Linked DNA regions of Homo sapiens: region 2 is linked to region 1. The links are contacts of gene promoters, found by promoter capture Hi-C in human tissues and cell types (Jung and others, 2019). All regions are on one chromosome and are shown on one strand. The core of a region is centred on a gene start or on the middle of the fragment in contact, and the rest is flanking DNA. Distances in the headings are between cores, read along the strand shown. Region 1 holds the start of TUBB2A (tubulin beta 2A class IIa). Region 2 overlaps PXDC1 (PX domain containing 1).

Region 1 (6,978 bases), core at 1,412-3,911:
GTAGTGGCCCTTGGCCCAGTTATTCCCGGCTCCACTCTGGCCTGCCAGAGGGAAAGTGAACATTAGACACTAAAACATAAGGAATTTCAAAATCTGTCATTTTGACTATGGAGGAGAAGGTAGGACTGGTCTTAGACTGGCAGATTCTTCTCTTTTGAATACTCTTCTTTTACCTGAAGAAATATTTTTCTATGTCAGTGACCTCAAAAACACTGGGGATCATAATAAAGTAAGAAGTAAGTTTAGCTCATCTGAGGCTATTGATTGAGGAAGAGGATAGGGTTAGAAAACTTAATTGGTTCTGAAATACATACATTTTTAAGAGGCATTCTCTTTATACTCAACTACAATTAAACAGGCAAGGTGAAGGCAGTGTGACCAGCAGAGAAGGTGGCCTCAGCATCTGTCTAGCTCTGGTCATAACCTGTGCTTTTGGCCCCTGGCTCTTTGAAGTCCTTTCAAGTTGCCTATAGCCTATGAAGCCTGGCTTGAAGCTTTTCCTTGCTCTTTCTTCCTTCCAGTCTGAGGCTGCTCTGCAATGGGAGGGCTGCAGCAGCCCTCTGCAGGCTGGCGTTGATCTGTGAGCCATGACCACCCATGGACTGCATGGAGCTAGGCCAGGACTCAGGGCTGCCGTGGACACAGTGTCACCTTGGCACTGAACACTAAGAACTGTGCTTTGCAGGGCTGTTAGGAAGAAGGTGTGTCATTTGGCCAGTTCCCAGTGATCATGACTACATACCGAACACGAAGTTGTCTGGTCTGAAGATCTGGCCGAAGGGTCCAGACCTGACAGAGTCCATGGTGCCAGGCTCCAGATCCACCAGGATGGCCCGAGGTACATATTTGTTACCTGCAGGAAATAAGAACTGACTCAGGCCTGTGCTTGGGGAGGGACTCACAGCAGCATTCAATTCCAGCATCTGAGACAAAAGGAGAACAGGAGATTTTCTGCTTTTAAGAAAAAGGAGGTCCTGAGTGTGCTTAGCCGTGGCAAACAGGCAGGAATCTTAGGAAACCATAAAACATGTTTTTCCAGCAGTTGGCATTTGAAATGAATATGCAAGAAGCATGCCTTTGTCACGTGCATGTTCCTGGGACGTTTCATCTCCCACATCATGGAAAGCAAGGATTCCTGGGCACACACATCCCGCTACTCACCAGCAGCCTCATTGTAGTACACGTTGATTCTCTCCAGCTGCAAGTCACTGTCTCCATGGTAACTGCCTGTGGGGTCGATCCCATGCTCATCGCTGATGACCTCCCAAAACTGAAATGAAAAAAGAACCACACCATGGCTCTGCATCCTGAATGTCACTAAGGATGGCCTTGTCCTCCTCCCATGTCCTTGGAACAGGGGCTTTTGTGGTCAGACAGTTAGTAAGTGCTAGACAGAGAGCAAAGAGCTGCACCCCCTATTTCCTGCAGCAGCCGCTGCTGAGGGGCTTGAAAATCCGCAGAGCATCGGCCATATTATGGGGATAGACTGAAAGGCTGGGAGGGGCCCTGGAGGAGGAGGGGACACAGCAGATGCCCTTCTAGGGAGAGGGTGGGGAGAGTAGAGAAGTGGAGAAGGGGTACAGGGAGGCTGTGTCACCCCAGGCAGGGCTGAATGCCATTGCATCCGGGATGATTGATGGGTCGTGGCAGGCCAAGGACAGGGGGACCCACTCTGTGGCTGCCTCCAGGGATCAAGCTCTCTTGGCACAGATCCCAGGCACTCCTGCAACAGTGCAGGTTTAAGCCACCGATCTACATGCTGGCACTGACCACCGGAGGGACTGGGCGAAGGGCAGCAGGAGCCTGGGAGGGCACCTGGGCGGCAGTGGAAGGAGCTGGCCATCGTGAGGGCGCTGGCTGCATTGTGAATTTGCGGCGGGGAGGCTGGGTGGGCAACATGGCGGTTCTCAAAGAGACCACGTCCTTGTACTGGCGCCCGCCCCCACCCATGCACCAGACCCGCTGCTGCCTCCCACACAGCGGTCGGTAATTGCAGCCCCCACCCAGCGCAGTCACCTGCCGCCTCGGGGACTGGCAGCAAGACTATCGCGTTGTATGTCATCATGTCAAGACAGTGCCCGAGCAAGGGAATTTATCTAACACCCTTGCCTGTACGACCCAAAGGGACGCCTCTGTTACATCTGCCAGTCCAGTGACACTGCATGTTTTCATTCAAACCGTAGAGAAAAATATACAAATTAAATTCACATGAAGCTAGCGCAATAAATATGACCGTACCCCCGACCCAAGTTTCTGAGACAAATACACCCAGGGGAATGCCAACCGCGTCCCGCAGAAGGGCTGTGTCCCAGGGAAATCGAAAGGCCCCCGATTAAACGCACACACAGCTGCGGCGCTGCGGGCATCCTGGCGGGTCATGCAGCCTCCCGGACCCCGCCCGGCGGCCTCGCCGCGGAATGTGCCACCCGGCCAGCCCGGGGCCGCCGCGGCCTCCAGCCCCCGCCCCGGCCCCAGCCCGCACCCTCGGTCCCAACCCCGGGCCCCTCCGTGGCGGTGAGCCCACCTTGGCGCCGATCTGGTTGCCGCACTGGCCCGCCTGGATGTGCACGATCTCGCGCATGGTGCCGGCTGCGGAGCGGGTGGCGCTGGCCCTCGGAGCGGTGCGCGGCGTGGACCGGCGGGCTGGGCTGCGCAGAGACCTGCCGCCGCCCCCCCAGCTCGGTCTTTTATACCCGGGGACCCGCCCTGCCCGGTGACGTCATGACGGGCGGGGCTGTGGCCGCGGGGGCGGTGCGGCTGGGACTGCGGCACCGCGAGGGGGAGCCGGGGCGCGGTGCGAGGTGTGGGGGCGCTCGCCCTATTGCTGCTGCCGCTGGGTCTAGGGTGGGCGGCCGGCCTCGCGGTCCGGCGGTGAGTGCGGTGCCCGGGCCTCGGGCCCAGCCGCAGCCCCCTGCCCGATCCACGGGCACGGGCGACCCCTGGCGCTGGGTCCTCCGCTCACGCCGCGATCCCCACCCCGAGCCGCCCACTCTGGACCCCCGAGGGGGGCTGGGGACCGGGGGCCCCGGAACCAGGGGGAGGGGCTGCCTCGGAACAGGGTCCTCGCCTCCTAAGGACGGGAAGAGGCGTCGAGTACCCTTTGGAGTAGGGGGCCGGAAATTGAAGACCCATTTGCAGTGGGCTCTCCAGCGGGTGGCAAAGGTTTCCCGCATCCTGGGCAGGGTCCTGGACGCCGTTTGTGGGGGTGGGGTGGGCAGCGTGGAGAGGAGTGGGGGGCCGCGGGGAGCCGACGGGCAGCTGCCTGAAAGGAATGCCAGGATGGCGGGGTGGGCGGCCTTTCGCCCCTGCAGGGGAGGAAGATGGCTTGGTCGGGGGCGGGGGTTGGGGGGGCTATCAAAGGGCTGGATTTGTCACATGTCCGCTTTGGGCTCCTGCGTCCTTGTAAAGGCCTTTTAAATGTGGAAAATTCTGCGGGTGTGTGTGTGTGTGTGTGTGTGTGTGTGTGTGTGTGTCAGAGAGGAAAGACAGGAGGAATATATCTGCCACGTTGATGTGTCAGCTGATGGCCCTGCCCCTTACACCCCTTAGGTCGCCTGATCCTCACAGAAGCTGTCGGAGCTAGGCTGGCCAGTTCGGTAGACCCTAGGCACGGTGGCTGCCGAGCATTGAAACGTAGGTAATCTGAACTGAGATGGGCTGTTAAGTGTGAAGAACACACTGGCTTTTATGGGCTCAGTAAGTTAAAATAATGTGAAATATTTCATTACTGATTCTTAAATATTGATGGTCTATCAAAATAATAGTGTTTTGGATACATTGTGTTAAATGACTTGTTTTGAAATTAGAAAATGTAAAATTACATACTTGGTTTCCATTTGCTGCTCACTTACGCATATTTTTGTTGACTACCACCGGCTTCTGGTAAGCATTATTACTACCCCAATTTCATAGCTCCGAAAGCGAGGTTGAAAGACCTGACCAGCCACAAAGCTAGGAAGGGAAGGAATCTAAAGCCTTTGTATAAATAAAAAGCCCAGGTGAGTTTTAAAGGCTTGGGTGGGCTGTGGTAAGGACCTGACTTAATTATTCACAAAGATGGCCCTGCACGGTGGACTAGGTAACAGGGGCTTGGGGACTGCCTTTGGTTCCCAGCACATTCCAACTATATAATGATGATAATTACAGGTGCCTTGGAGCTGGCTTTGTGGTAGGAGATGAGAAGCCATATATGAAAGCACATTGAGTTTATGGAGTAAAAATGCCTTGGTAAAACCCAAGGTGATGGGCTGGGCGCGGTGGCTCACGCCTGTAATCCCAGCACTTTGGGAGGCTTAGGCGGGTGGATCACGAGGTCAGGAGATCGAGACCATCCTGGCTAACACGGTGAAACCCCGTCTCTACTAAAAATACAAAAAAATTAGCCGAGCCTGGTGGCAGGCATCTATAGTCCCAGCTACTCGGGAGGCTGAGGCAGGAGAATGGCGTGAACCCGGGAGGCGGAGCTTGCAGTGAGCCGAGATGGCGCCACTGCACTCCAGCCCAGGCGACAGAGCCAGACTGCGTCTCAATAAAAAACAACAACAAAAAACCCAAGATGATGCTGTCATTCCTAATGTGCACCCTACCTGCCACCTCAATAGTTGGTCTGTATCGGAGGTGGAAACTAAAGCCAGATGTCTGTGAGTAGCCTCTTAGGCCAAGTTAGGTCTTAATCACCCCAGCTTTAGGAAGCGCCCAGCATCCTCCCAGATGTAGGTAGGCAGGTGCCTAGTGCCTCTTCTCAGGGTGGGGACAGATTTCCTAGAATTTCTCCTCCTCTCTCCCCTCTCCCTGCTGCTGGGCCCCCAGTGGACAACCTGTCCCTCGGATGCTACTCCCAGGTACCCAGGGCTTGACCTCCACCTTCTCCCCACCCCCACCCCAACTCTCACATCTTGGCTCTTCACCACAGCCGGAGCCTTCCAGATCCTCTCCAGAGAATGGCTCTCCTTGGGGTACCTTCACTCATTACACAGTTCTGAAAAGATTTTTCCAGAGATAATTGCTTCTTGGCCTTTGTGTTTTAATTCAGCGTGAAATCTGAGGCCAAATAGGAGCAGAGGATGAGACCTGAAAGGGACAGCACTAGGGACACGGGGACCCCTAGCAGCTGGGCGTTTCCCGGCCTGTGGAGCATGTGCCCACTCTGCTGTTCCTAGCTCAGTCCTCCAGCAAGTCACTGCACCTCTCTGAGCTTCTCTGGAAATGGGTTTTTCTTACGTTGGGGAGCTGGGAGGCACTGTGCGTGAACTGGACATTAGTGAGCGCACAGAAAATAAATCCATGGCAGTGTTCACGGGCGCAGGCCAGGTACCTGATTGTCTGCTCTGGATCGCTGGCAGTGAATGTTCTGCCCAAGTCGGCCTTCTCCTGCCTGGCAGTTCACGCCCAGCCTACTTCTCTCTGACGCGCTCCTCCCTCGGTGCCGCCCGTGATGTGTGTTAGTATATAATCAGAGAAACTCACACGCGGAGTTTTAAATAATGCCTGCCCTGCCTAAGGTGACTCATCTGAGGCCGTGAGTTCCTGCTCTCCCCTCCCTCGCGGCAAGTGTAGATATCCCCAACCCCACCTCGCTGTCACTAAGCAACTCGACCTTGTACAGCACCGATGCAGATAATAACAGGAGGAAATAGAGCCTGCTAATTGTCCCCTTCCCTAGAATAGGTTTTTAAGGAGCAATCTCTCCCCTTTCATGTATTTTTCAGTGTCTAAAGAGGAGCAGCTCCACCGGCTGTTGGGTGGGCCGGGGATGGGGAAGGGGAAGAGGACCAACCTCCTCCAGCCTCAAGTCACTTCCTGCTTTAGACAGGATGCCACTCGCAGTGTCTGAGCCACCCCTACCCTGAAGGCATCATTGGCGGGGTGAGGGGCGGGGGGCGGGGAAGGGCAGGTGTAATGACAAAATTCAGACTAGAGAATGTGTTCCAGGTAGGAGGCTGAGCCACATCTGTCTTTCACAAAAGGACATAAGCTCTTACCCTTTTGCCTGCCCTTCCCGCCTGCTGCTTCAGAGGGCCCAACGAGAAGGGTCCTGGTGAGAATGTTCTAGTGAAACGTACCCTGTGAATATGTGGTGTTATGATGATATCGTTACTGTTCACTGATGCCATCTCTAAGGGTGACAGTCGTGATCTAGTTGAAATAGATTTAGTTGGTCCAAGTAAGAGAGTCCTGGAACTTCAAAAACACTAGTTTCCTCTGCAGAATGATGAAAACCCAAGGACCATCCCAGCAATACAATTGTCTAAATTTGTATGGTACAGTCTTGCATCCTGTTTGTGCCCTCAGAGAACTAGCCACACTCTCCGCTCCAACTTCTCTTTCCCATGAAACTCATCCAGTGCAGCCCCTGTCTGCTATTTTTTAAATAAAAGCATCTCTTTATGAAGATGGAAGAATTTTGTTCAAAGCATTTAAGGGGATGTAACCTTTTCAAAAGGTTACCTAAAATAAAAGTCTGAACTCCAATTAAATTTAATTTTAAAATATCAACCCCACCAAAGTTTACAATTTTTTTTTTTTTTTGCATCAGATGACTATAATAATACAGAGTAAATATATAGAAGATTTTTAGCCACTTTCTGGAATGGGCCATGCCCCAGAATGTGACATTCATATTACAAGTGTCGATCTGGGGCCTTTCAAAACTGAAGATGTCATTTTTTGTTTTTTTTTGAAATGGAGTCTCGACTAGGCTGGAGTGCAGTGGCATGATCTTCGCTCATTGCAACCTCTGCCTCCCAGGCTCAAGCGATCCTCTCGCTTTAGCCTGCCGAGTACCTGGGATTACAGGCGTGCACCACCATGCCTGATTAATTTTTGTATTTTTAGTAGAGGCAGCGTTTCACCATGTTGGCCAGGCTGGTCTCAAAGATGTTATTCTTGATGTCAAATTCTCATTAAGCTATAACCCCCCAAGTTTTTTTTAAATACATACAATGTACACAGCAATTATATATACATATATCTTATATA
Region 2 (6,985 bases), core at 4,458-6,957, 570 kb after region 1:
ACATTTATTTGTACTTATGGCTCTTTCAAGTGTGGGAATATAAAAAATGAACTTATGAGACCTATGTTTTTCCAGAAAAAAAAAAAAGGAAGCCAGAGAATGCTCTGATGTGCTTAATAGGACAACAGATGTCCAAACATCTCACCCCTACTGGCAAGACCTCATTGCGCACGGACTAGTAACAGTAAAACTTCTTCAGTGAAGGCTGAGCAGGGGATGAGGTTGGGGAGCCAAATTTGAGTCTTGACAGAGGAACACAGCCTGAGCAAGGAGGTGGCCAAGGAAGCTGCATCACAGTGACCGAATGGCTGGGGAGAAGCACCTCTGTGAAACGGATGAGACGAATCCGTGAATCAATCCTTGAAAGTCAGATGGGCATTAATTGAACATGCTGATCACTTCTAATCTTAGCTACTAAGCAGGAAGCCTCATCCTTGCACAGAACTGAATTTGATGTGTCAAGAAAAGAAAGGCAACCGGTCAACCCCGGAGTGAGCCACCTACTAGCCTATTTGAAATTGAGATGCTTTAAACAACACAGCTGGAAGGCAGAGGGAAATGCAAAACCAAAGGAAAGTCCATGTGCTTTGCAGCTGGGTCATCAAAGAGAATTCCTGTGGCTGCCAAAAAGAAAAATGGAGGAAAAGAAAAAAGCCTAAGTCAACCCCCGTCTCCCTCCAAAATAAAACAAGCAGTGTGTCCATTTTTCAATCTGGGCAGACCACTTCCCTAGGGTAAGAACATAACACACTTTGTCACTCACGGAATGTGACAGGAAGAGGGGGAGGGACCAGGCCCCAGGAGTCAGTTTTAGTTTCCACCCTGTCCCAAGGCAGGGGACAGAAAGAACCACGCCTTTATACACAAACATCCTGGACAGATCAAAGTAGAGTCATAGATTTTATTTAATTAAAATAGATTAAAAACAGACTGTGTAAAAGAATTAGAATTCTCAATAATTTACTATTATTTACATTAGCAAATGTCGGTCGTTAGTAGACACTGAGCAGAGAAGCTTGAAGAACGGGGATCCTCTCCTGTGGGCAGGGGAGCCCCAGCTTCCCTCGTGATTCCCGTCCTTTCAAGTTCATTATGGCAGCTCTGTCAATGAGCACCCCAGGGTGGTGTGGCCGCAGCACCAGGACCCGCGCTGAAGGCCCAGAGACCTGGCAGGCCGGGAAGAAATTCCTTTCCTTTGGGAAGAACCACCAACGCTCAGTCCAAGCTCACACGGTTATCTAGTCGGCAATGCCTTCCCTGCCCTGCAGCCAATACCCCCCACTGTGCTGGGCCTTCTGCAAATACTCCTGGGGTTGACCCAAACCCAGTTTCCAGATAAAAGATAAAAAGAAAAAAAAAAAGGCCACATATCCCAGTTCTCAGAGAAATCCTGGATTACTAAACATCCCCTGCCTGTGGCACCTGGAATGGGTGACTTGTCAAAATCTCCCTCAAGACGTTTTGTGCGTTTGCCGTGGGAGGGAATGGTGGGGAGTCAGGGTGGCTGGGGGGCACTAGGCCACTTCACCAAGAGGGATGCACCTCCCAGGAAGCAGTAGCAGTGAGAGCGAGCCCCACAGGAACTGTCCCTGCCCTGGCAGTGCGCAGCCCTGTGGGCACCAAGCAGGGAGTGAAGACCCTCAGAACACAGGCCCTGTGGCCTCCGGCTGTGACCTCAGCTTGCTGGAGACTCTGCGGTCAGCCTGGCCCACTAGGAGCCCCTGCTGCTCCACTTGCAGGACACCCAGGCCTCCTGGCGTCAGTGGGGCCTGGGACGTCTGGGAGTTCCAGAGCTGGGGCAGCAGCTGTGACCATGGGGGCCAGCACAGTGGACAGCATCAGAGCTGGCAGTGAACAGCTGAGGCGGGGGAGGCCTGATAGAGAGGTTCAGTCCCAAATGTCTGTCTCGAAGGGGACCAGGTGGTAATATGACAGGTTGGTGACGTAGGCTGCTGGGTCGTCCCCGTCCTCCAGCTCTGAGGGAAACTCACTGCCATTCTCAAATCTGAAATTAGAGAAACCAGAGGTGAGGGGTGGCTCATTGTTGGGATCAACACCAAACACCCGCCGGGACCATGAGCATGACTTTCAATGCCCGCTAGTAAGTGTGCAAAAAAACCACGGCTACAAATGAACTGGTGAGCTGGCTCCTGCTCTGAGACTGCCAGAGCTTCTGGTTTCCACTGCCTTGGAGACTGCTGTCTGCATTTGCTTAGACAACCCTTAGCGAGGCCTTCATCCATTCCTTCATTCATGGAGTGCTGATTTTCACCTCTTGTTCTGTGCCCAGCACCGCGTCAGGCTGTGGGATCAGCAGTGAACAAGGCAGGCAGGGTCTGTCCTCAGGGAAGAGGCGCCTGCCTCGTGCTGGGCCCTGGGGACAGCTGAGAGAGGAGTGGTCACGAGCTCACAGCCTGACCGCAGCAGAGATGACACACGGACGCACAGGAGGCTGCGAGGGAACAGGAGGCTGGAGAAGAGCCGGCGAGGCCCGTGGAGGTCACGGGGGGAGACACCTTCTAGCGGGGAAGCCTGCATGTGGGTACGTGTTTCATTCGCGCTCTGGCAGATGAGAAGCATCCGAACATGGGGGACTTACATGGGGTGTGGAGAACTAGGGAAGAATACAAACCCCAAACATAAGGGGACGTAAAAGCCCGCGATACTGACTCCCCACACACTGGAACTGTTTCTACTCCCTCTGCAGCCCAGGCAGACTTCCTACGTTAAGAAAAGAGACTCCAGGTCTTTAAAAATGCGTAACAGAGAAAAGCACAAGAAGGACATTCTCCCCAGGAAGGGGGACAGAGCTGTACGGCTCGTGGGATTTTCCTCCACCTATGAATCAGCCCAAACCCAGCAGGCCGCGTGGGAGTGTGGACAGAGGCAAGCAGCTGCCCCGCCCTCCTGGGAGCCACCTCGGGGCTGCCTCCTGTGCCGCCCCCAGTGACTGAAGGTGGCCCTGGCCCGTGGACAACTGTGGGAACTCAGCCATCTCTGGAAAGCTTTGCCATGACCAAGATGACTGCACAGTCCAGGCCCCTGGCCGGACACACAACAAGGCAGGGCGAGCATATGTCCCCCACAAACCTAGTACATCGTGCGAATCCCGCTGACCTCAAGGGACAGGGCTGTGAAGACAGCTTTAAGGCATTTGGATAAGAAAGGCTGAGGCTGCAGAGGAAGGCCTCCCCTCTGACTCCATGGCCAGGCCTGGAGTGTGGTGTCAGCCCCCGCCTCGGCTTCCCTATGCTCACGGTCCTGGCAACACGAGGCTGGGACAGAGGCCGCGGCACAAAGAGCCCTAGCTGTGGGTGGGAAAGCTATGGGGGGCTCACGGAGACAGAGCAGCTCTCCAACTTCATCCAGGGAATGAAATCTCTTCCCCAGACCAGGGCTGGATGGAAACCCAAGGGGGAACCTTGGGCGTGCCGAAAGGTTCAAGCCAGTCGAGGGACAGAGCCACAGCGCCACCTCAAACAGTGTCCCACCACCTGCCCGTCCTCCCTGCCCAGATCACAGGATGACCCTGAGGACATGAGGAGGGAGGGGGACCGGGATGCTCAGGGAAAATGAGTCATGGGGCTAAGGCTCCCTGAGGTCCCCACAGAACCGCCCAGTGCCTCGGCCCTGGATGACCTCCCAGAAGCCAGGCAATCCCTTCGCCAGCTGAGACTGTCACCTGCAGAGCCCCAGAAGTCCCCACTGGCCCCATCTCTATCAGATACATCCATTCCCTGAGTGCAGGTGGGTCTCTGGGCCCTGGCACTGGTGCCCACTTGCCCCTGGGGCCAGACTCGGGGCAGCCTGCTGAGACTCTGCTGTGGGGGCCCTGCTGTGGGCCCGGCGGCACTGGGCTCACAGGCTCGGGCCAGACAATCAGCCTCGGGTGCCAGGGAGGACAGCCACGCAGGGAGGTGAAGCCTCCAGTTCCACAAAGGGTGTCTGTGCTCTTGGTCGCTGTCAACCCCCCACCCGACAGCCGGTGCCGTGTAGAAACAGATCGTCCCTGTGAGACACTGGAGCTGGACCATCGACTCCACTGCACTGCCCGAGATTGAGGAGCCAGAGAAAGGCCCGGCAAGCCCAAGTCGGAACTCCCTCCAGATGCTCCCGAGCCCCATGGCGGCAGGCGTTTCTTTGTTAGGCTTTTCTGGGGTCATGGAGATTTTCTCGGCCCTCTCTGTGAGCCAGGCATCCCGGAGCAGGTGGCCGCCTATTCAAGACCTGTCACTCCTGTGCACATGCAGTCAGTCCCGGGCAGCTGCAAGAGCCACACCTCTGGCCCGGCTTTCTTCCCTCCGTGTGTTTCTCCTCAGCTCCAGCCTGCTCACAGTTGAACCTGCCTCCTAAATCTGGCCTCATTCCAGGGTGCCAAGGGCCTCTTGGATATAGAAAGGGGTCCCCTTGCAAACACTGCAGACTCAGAGCCTGCACAACTGGTGATGAGGAAGGGTCTCCATCTGTCTTCTCCCCAAGACAGTGCCTGGCCAGTAACTACCCCTGCCAAGCTAAAGGGCCTCTTTCTTTCATCCATGACTACACTCCAGCCTTGTACCTCCACGGTGCCAGCCTGTTGGCATGGGGGACCCATAGGTAATGAGTGAATGAGCTATGTACAGTGGGGTCAGGGCAAGGGACACAAAAGGGCAAGGCAGGTCAGGAAAGCTGCGGCCTTGGCCCCACCGGCACAGCCTCTGCCACCAGCAGCTCATGACCCCTCTACTGGGAAGGATTCTCGCACCATCTACCCGGGAGACACACTGGTAAAGACGGGGTCTGTTAGCAGGAGCCAGTCCCACAAGCCTGACAGGGACCCCCCCATGCTCAGTCATGGAGCAGGGATTCAGCAGAGGAGGCCCAGGCCGCCGGCTGGGGCCCAGGTTCACGCTGGGGTCACAGCCCTGCCGCCCACAGGCCCGGATGTGGGCCTCGGCACATGTGGCCGGCTCTAGTTTCAATCTGCTGCTATGGAGGGCTAGCAAATGCGTGGGGCAAGACCCGGGCCATCCCCAGGCTATGTCATTCCTGGGCCCACAGGGAGACTCTGCATCCAGAGCTGCCTCTGTGGGACTCTCAAGCGGGATGTTTTACACTCACCATCTGTGGTCTTCAACACAACCCGTGGTGGGACAGCAGAATGGTCCCGTGAAGGTAAGAGAAGTCAGGAAAGGTTAAATAACTTTCTGAGCTCATACAGCCAAGGAGCAGTCTGGATTTGGCTGTGTCAGGAAACAGAGGCCAAGCTGTCTGGGGACCCTGGTGCCCCCAGAATTCACCAAGAAGATGCCTGGAGGAGAGCCAAGGCTGAAGATGCTGCCGACCCCAGTGCCGGGCTCTCTAGAGCATGTGTTACAGTCAAATCAGAGACAGAAAGAGCGGAGAAGACAGTGGTGGCTTTGGCTGTCCAGCCTCAGTAATCAGATACATCCTACACCTTCAGCACAGGGCCAGGCAGCCTTGAGGCAAACATGTCCCCATCTCAGGGAATCAGGACCATTGAGTGTGAGGCATGTGGCCCTCCTGGCCCTGGAGACAGCATCACACCCCTCAGGGCCCCACACGAACCAGGCCCCTAGCCCTGCAACGTCTCCTAAATGCCCCTCAGAGCCAGCAACTCCATCTTCCACAGATTCACTCATCAAGATCTCACCAGACTCTAGGAAAGGCAAACTTCTAAAATCAGTGTCCAAATGCAGGTAGGAACTGCTGGGTGGCTCTGGGCACCCACTTCCTTCCATAAGAACAGTGAGCCCCCATCCCACAAGGCAAATGGCTCAGGACAGTCTATGAAACGATATTCAAATCAGCATACTTACAAATGCTCTGTTGGGTCCACGCCCAGCTGCTGGTCTCTTCCATTTGGTATACTGTGGTCAATAACTATTGTTTCGGTATTTGCTAAACAAAATCCATTGGACCTCATGATTTCTGAAAACCAAAGCAACAAGGTGAGTCCTCAGGAGGGGTCGGAGCTTGAGGTTTTGGAGTTTGGAACTTACTCCCATCTCCCTGCTTTCTCCTCCACCTGTTGCCCGTGCCTCTCTTCCACACCGTAAGAGAATGCCGTGCACCCGAGACCCATTCAGAGCTCTGCCGCACAAAGTCAGGGAAGAGGTCAATCCCCGCAGGAGCCAGGCCTGCTGTGTGTCTCTCCCAAGACAAAGATGCTCTGCTGCCTGAGTACGCTCTCCATATGCCCTTCGCTGTGGGCTTCAAGCTGGAGTACAAAGAAGGAGTACTGGGCTCAAATCTGTGAGTCTGCGTGTGAGAGCAGAGCTATGGCACAGTGACATGTGGCTCTGCCCAGGGTACCTCTCCTTGCTGAGCTCTCACTGTGGCTGAGACATGAGTAACAATATTGACTGCCCTGGGTTGTTGTTCTGACTGAATGAAATCAGTGTGCATTTTATTCTTATTTCAATAGTTTTGGGGTTACAGGTGGGTCTTGGTTACACGGATAAGTTCTTTAGCGGTGATTTCTGAGATTTTGGTGGATCCATCACCCAAGCAGGGTACACTATACCCAGTAAGTAGTCTTTTATCCCTCACCCCACGAACCCAAAGTCCATGATATCATTCTTATGCCTTCGCATCCTCATAGCTTAGCTCCCACTTCTAAGTGAGAATATACAATATTGGTTGCCCATTCCTGAGTTACTTCTCAGTGTGCATTTTAAACCAAAGGGTGACTTTCACTGTTTCGCTTTATGTAATTCTGTATGTAAATGATTTTTTTCCCAAATAAGCACAGATTCGGGTAATTTAGAAAAGCCAGCAAAGAAAAACGACTTCCTACGTCCATACTGGCTGCATGGCATGAGCTAGAGGGTGGAAGTCTGCGCTCGTCCTTGGCTGGAGGGGCTGGAATGGAGGATGAGGAGCCAGGACAACGAGCTCCATGGCCTTGGGACTCAGTTTCCTCCAATGAAAAATTTCAAAGTTGTATTAATCTCTGAGGATCCTTCTCACTCTGAAATCCCAT

What was found. The method cuts DNA at HindIII sites, captures the fragments that hold promoters and counts their contacts. A contact is called where the count stands out against the background at its distance.
Region 2: a fragment that was not itself captured here is called in contact with the fragment with the promoter of TUBB2A in region 1 in 1 of the 25 tissues and cell types used here (dorsolateral prefrontal cortex).

Annotation. Positions count from the first base shown.
Region 1 is chr6:3,154,883-3,161,860 of GRCh38, forward strand. TUBB2A (tubulin beta 2A class IIa) reads right to left here and starts at 2,662. Exons shown (of 4, transcript NM_001069.3): 1 at 2,525-2,662; 2 at 1,162-1,270; 3 at 743-853; 4 at 1-41. The coding sequence starts at 2,581. LOC105374889 (a long non-coding RNA gene) reads left to right here and starts at 2,819. Exons shown (of 2, transcript XR_926395.3): 1 at 2,819-2,871; 2 at 3,550-4,554. RefSeq lists a silencer at 2,544-3,003 and a cis regulatory region at 5,266-5,860. The HindIII fragment of the contact is 12,624 bases long and covers 1-6,978 here.
Region 2 is chr6:3,721,732-3,728,716 of GRCh38, forward strand. It overlaps PXDC1 (PX domain containing 1), which reads right to left. Exons shown (of 5, transcript NM_183373.4): 4 at 5,820-5,931; 5 at 888-2,005. The coding sequence ends at 1,888. Among named protein-coding and RNA genes, the nearest start is that of PXDC1, 26 kb to the right of the region's middle. RefSeq lists an enhancer at 2,244-2,782. The HindIII fragment of the contact is 7,395 bases long and covers 2,011-6,985 here.